Linked DNA regions of Homo sapiens: region 1 is linked to region 2. The links are contacts of gene promoters, found by promoter capture Hi-C in human tissues and cell types (Jung and others, 2019). All regions are on one chromosome and are shown on one strand. Each heading gives the region's core, a stretch centred on a gene start or on the middle of the fragment in contact. The rest is flanking DNA. Distances are from core to core; before and after follow the strand shown.

Region 1 (2,700 bases), core at 74-2,573, 270 kb after region 2:
AGAACTCACTCACTGTCACAGGAACAGCATGGGGGAAACAGCCCCTTAATCCAATCACTTCCCACCAGGTCCCTCCCTGAACACCTGGAGATTACAATTCAAGAAGAGGTGGGTGGGGACACACAGCCTGACCACAGCAGTGGCAAGAATCTACTCAGCATGAATTCCAAATGCTTCCTTCCCCGCAGTCCTCATGTTGTACACAAGACCTCCAGACACCTACATGTCTACATCTCTCCATGTTGTACACGAGATCTCCAGACACCTACACATTTGCTACATCTCCCCATTCCCCTCGCCCACCACGTCCCTGTAAACCACTGTTTTGTTCTTTCTGTATATTTGATTTAAAATATTTGTTTAGTTTCCACATGTGAGATTATGCAATATGTTTCCTTCTGTGTCTGGCTTATTTCACTCAGCAGAAGGATGTTCTGTAGGTTCACCCATGCAGTGGCAAAATGACAAGATCTCACTCCTTTTTAGGGCTAAATAATATTTCATGATGTGTATGTACCACAGTTTTTTTAAACCATTTGTCTGCCAATAGACACTTAAGGTTTTCTTCCCCCCCACATCTTGGCTGTTGTGAACAGTGCTGCAATAAACATGCAGGTGCAGACGTCTCTTTGAGACACTGGTTTCATGGATTTTGAATCTATATCCAGCAGAGGAAAGGCTGAGTCATATGGTGGTTCTTATTTTGAATTTTTTGAGGAAGCTTATACTGTTTTTCATAATGACTGTACCAATCTACATTTCCACCAACTGTGTACAAGAGGGAAAATTAAAAGCTTTTCCACCAAGATCTGCTATGAGGCAGGGATGCCCACTCTTGCCACTCTGTTCAACATAGCATGGAAGTCCTAGCAAGGGCAATCAAACAAGAAAAAGAAAGAAAAGGCATCCGCAGAAACGAGGAAGTAACATTATCTCCATCTGTAGAGAACATGATCATATGTGTAAAACACCTCAGAGTTCCACAAAATGAAACCAGTGTTAGAACTACTAAATGAATCCAGTTAAGTTGTAGGATATATAAATAATAACCTAGCTGAAAAAGAAATCAAGAAAACAATCCCATTTACAACACATAGAAATAAACAAAATGCCAAGGAATAAATTTAACCAAAGAGGTGAAAGATCTGTATGCAGAAAACGATGAAACATTGATGAAAGAAGTTTGAAGAAGACACAAATAAATGGAAGGATCTTGTGTTCATGACTTGAAATGATTAATATTGCAAAAATGTCCTCACTGCCCAAAGCAATGGACAGATTTAATTCAACCCCTATCAAAATCCTAGTGGCATTCTTTACAGAAATAGAAAAAAAAACTACAATGTATATGGAACATAAGAGACTCCAAATAGCCAAAACAAGAATGAGAAAGAAAAATAAAGTTGGAGGCATCACACTTCCTGATTTAAAATTATATTACAAAGCTATAGTAATCAAAACAGTACAGGACTTTCATAAAAACAGTCTCATGTACCAATGAAACAGAATAGAGAGCCCAGGAATAAATCCAAACATGGATGGTCCACTAGTTTTTGACAAGAGCACCAAGAGGACTCAATGGAGAAAAGTCAGTCTCTTCAACAAATGGTAATGGGAAAACTGGATTTCCATGTGAAAAAGAATGAAATTGGACCCTTATCTTACACCAAACAGAAAAATCAACTTAAAATGGATTAAAGACTTTGATGTAAAACCTGAAACCATAAAAATACAAGAAAAAAACAGAAGCTAAAAGCTCTTTAACATTGGCCTTGGCAGTGATTCTTGGATGTCACATCAAAAGCTCAGGCTACAAAAGCAATAAATAAATAAATGAATAAATGGGACTACATCAAACTAAAAAGCTTCTGCAAAGCAAGGGAAATAATCAACAAAATAAAACGGCAGCCCATGGATTGGGAAACCATAGACCTGATAAAGGGCTGTATGAGTCCATTCTCGCACGGCTATAAAGAAACACCTGAGACTGGGTAATTTATAAAGAAAAGAGATTTAATTGGCTCCCAGTTCTGCAGGCTGTGCAGGAGGCATGGTGCTGGCATCTGCTCAGCTTCTGGGGAGGCCTCAGGAAATTTACAGTCATGGCAGAAAGCCAACAGGGAGCTAGCATATGGCATGGCTGGAGCAGGAGAATGCCAGCACATGGCATGGCTGGAGCAGTGCTGGCATCTGCTCAACTTCTGGGAGGCCTCAGGAAACTTACAGTCACGGCGGAAGGCCAACAGGGAGCCAGCACGTGGCATGTCTGGAGCAGGAGAAAGAGGTGGGGGGAGGTGCCGCACACTTTTAAACAACCAGATCTCATGATAACTCACTCACTCACCATCCCCAGAACAGCACTGAGGGATGATACTACCCATTCATGAGAACTCTGCCCCCAAGATCTAATCACCTCCAATATTGGGGATTACAATTTAACATGAGATTTGGGTGGGACACAGAGCCAAACCATATCAAGGGTTAGTATCCAAAATGTATAAAGAACTCATACAACTCAATAGTAGAAAACCCTATTAAAAAATGGGCAAATGATCTGAATCGCCATTTTCTCCCAAGAAGACATAAAAATGTCCAACAGGTATAGGAAGAGGTGTTCAACATCAGTGGCCATCAGGGAGTTGCGAATCAAAACCACTATGAGATAACACCTCACATCCCTTAGAAGGGCTGTTACCTGGA
Region 2 (2,700 bases), core at 172-2,671:
CCCAGCATCTTCCCCACAACAGGTCCTCTTATGACCCCTCCCCCAGCCCGAGGCACTGCTGGGGACCCCAGGAAACTACAGGACATCCCCCATTAGCTCAACTCCAGCTTCTCGTTGCTGGGTGGGGACACAGAGTCTTGGGGAAGATTTTGCCACAAACATAGATGTGGGCGTTTACGTAAACACAGAACTCTATCCCGAAGCAGACAAGAGACTCCCAGATTCCCAGGGGACTTGAACCAGGATATTACTAGCAAGTCATACTCCATTCCAGGTAGCAATGATACATTAGCTATGCAGAAAGTCATCGTTCTTCAACAAACCACTCTCATTTTAATTGCCACATTTTCATTATCCACATTAATCATTAAAATGAAAGTACCATCTCAACTCCTGTCGCCATGAACTCAACTAAAACAGGTAGACAAAATGGGGGAAAGGGAAAAGAAAAGGAAATAGAGAAGCATAGAGATGGTGACGTCTGAACACAAGACAGGAGCTGCTCCTTGGAAACCGGCTTCCTGGCGCTCTTCCCTCAGCGCTCCCTCCCGGGAAGGATGTGCTGAACCATAAACTTATTTCTCACAGCAACGTCTATCAGGGATGTTTCCTTCACAGGCCCAGTGAAAGGGCTGGCCCTTGACACCTCACAGACACCTGGCCTAAGCAGAGTGAGGCGGTCCAGGGACTTTCCATACACAGGCTGTGTCCTGAGGCTCTGCTCACCCCATACCCCTGCTCACCCCCACGGCCCTGCTCACCCCCACGGCTCTGCTCACCCTCACAGCCCTGCTCACCCCCACGGCTCTGCTCACCCTCACGGCCCTGCTCACCCCCACAGCCTTGCTCACCCCCACGGCCACCCAGGGCCCTGCTCACCCCCATGGCTCTGCTCACCCCCACAGCCCTGCTCACCCCTATGGCCACCCAGGGCCCTCCTCACCCCCATGGCTCTGTTTACTCCCAAGGCCATCCAGGGCCCTGCTCACCCCCACGGCCACCCAGGGCCCTGCTCACCCCCACGGCCACCCGGAGCCCTGCTCACCCCCACAGCTCTGTTTACCCCCACGGCCACCCAGGGCCCTGCTCACCCCCACGGCCAGCCGCAGTTGCTCCCGGCTGGGCAGCAGCACGAGGACATCCCTGTGTTCCGAGGCCATCGCGTCCATTCCCAGGGTCGGCTCCTGCTGACTGCATGCAGGCCTCTCAGGACTGGGTTCCATACATCGCGCCCCTGAAGGAGGGAACGTGTCAGGGTTTGTCCGGGCGGGGTCTATGCCCCTCCCTCTCGGGGGCACCGCCATGCTGTCGTTACTCGGCCCTCCCCCGCCATGGGTCGCAGGTGGGTGCTCAGCACCTCCCAGATCACAGCTGTGCTTTCCGGGACCCGCCCTTGCCGAGCTTCTCACTGGGAAGGGAATTGAGAGGGAAGCCTGGGCTGGGAATCCAGCATGGCCAAGCCAGGACAAGGGTCAGAGCTGCAAATAGCTGGGTGTGTGGAGGGCGCCAGGAATGCAAATAAACAACCTCAGGCTGGGCACCCGCCATGCAGCACTCCCATGCAGGGTAGCTCAGCAGCCAGCCTCGGTGTGGGCCCCGTGAGAACCAGGCTGGGGGAGACAGGACCCAACTCCTCCACCTGACAACCCCTATCTCCTCAGGGTGCCTGCTCCTTCTTCTATAATGTGGAGAGGGCTATGCAAACCCCATGGGCACAGATGCCAGAGCCAGGGCTGCTGGGGAAGATGGAGCAGCAGCAGGGCAGGACGAGGAGGGCGGGAGGAAGGCAGCCTGGGTGGGCACCCTGCCCCACACACCTCCTGTGGCATCTGTTATCGACCTCAGGAAGCAGCACAGCTGCCGTTCCTGGACAGGTTCTGCCAGGAGGGACCCTGGCTCCCTTTAGGGGCTGGAAACTGAGGACACTTCCTTCCTTGTCCAGGGCCAGCAAATCCCTTCCTGCCTGCAGCAGCTGGAAGGCCAGGAAGGGGGTCCTGGCTTGCGTGGACAGCAGCCGGGTGCATCAGCACGAGGGGTGGGGACATCTCCCGCAGGGCCTGGAACCCCTGAGGCCGCTCAGCAGAGATGAGCAACGCCTTCGAGCTCTTTGGCACAGTGTTAGGTGGGGAAGGGACCCCAGGATCCTGCCTGGCCCTGGGACCACCCAGACCTTTGGGCGCTGCAGGTCAGGAGAGGCAGTTCCCACGGGCCTGGGCTGTGGAATTCTGTCCTCAGCCGTGAGCTCCATCAGTTTCCTGCCATGGAGTCTGGGATGCTCTGGGACCTTCCTCTAGTAAGGGGTCTGGACCTCCGGACGGGCCGTTGTTCATCTTAGGAAATTCGCACTCCAGCCGCCTTAAGGCCTGGCCCGGTGGGTTTAGGAAATTCGCACTCCAGCCGCCCTAAGGCCCGGCCCGGTGGGTTGAGAAGATTTAGGAGGCTTAGGCCTCACCTCCCCCGGACCCTGGACTGACACTGGCTCCCTCCCTCCCTCCCTCCGCTCAGATCCAGACCCTTCCCAGACCCTCGAGGCCACACATGTGTGCCCAAGACAGCAGTGGCGGTCTCTTTTCTCTCCACAGCAAACGTAGAGCTGTTCACTATGGAAGATGTGGGGATCCCTTTAGCTGAGAGCACAAAAAGTTTTAAAAATGGCAAAAAAACCACAAAAAAAAACAGCCCCAGAGAGCAGAGGCTGGA

Evidence for each region. The method cuts DNA at HindIII sites, captures the fragments that hold promoters and counts their contacts. A contact is called where the count stands out against the background at its distance.
Region 1: a fragment that was not itself captured here is called in contact with the fragment with the promoter of FRMD1 in region 2 in 2 of the 25 tissues and cell types used here (H1 embryonic stem cells and hippocampus).

The regions. Positions count from the first base shown.
Region 1 is chr6:168,350,134-168,352,833 of GRCh38, forward strand. No RefSeq gene overlaps it. Among named protein-coding and RNA genes, the nearest start is that of DACT2, 32 kb to the left of the region's middle. The HindIII fragment of the contact is 3,485 bases long and covers 1-2,700 here.
Region 2 is chr6:168,077,791-168,080,490 of GRCh38, forward strand. FRMD1 (FERM domain containing 1) reads right to left here and starts at 1,422. Exons shown (of 11, transcript NM_024919.6): 1 at 1,092-1,422. The coding sequence starts at 1,304. RefSeq lists an enhancer at 413-1,134. The HindIII fragment of the contact is 22,554 bases long and covers 1-2,700 here.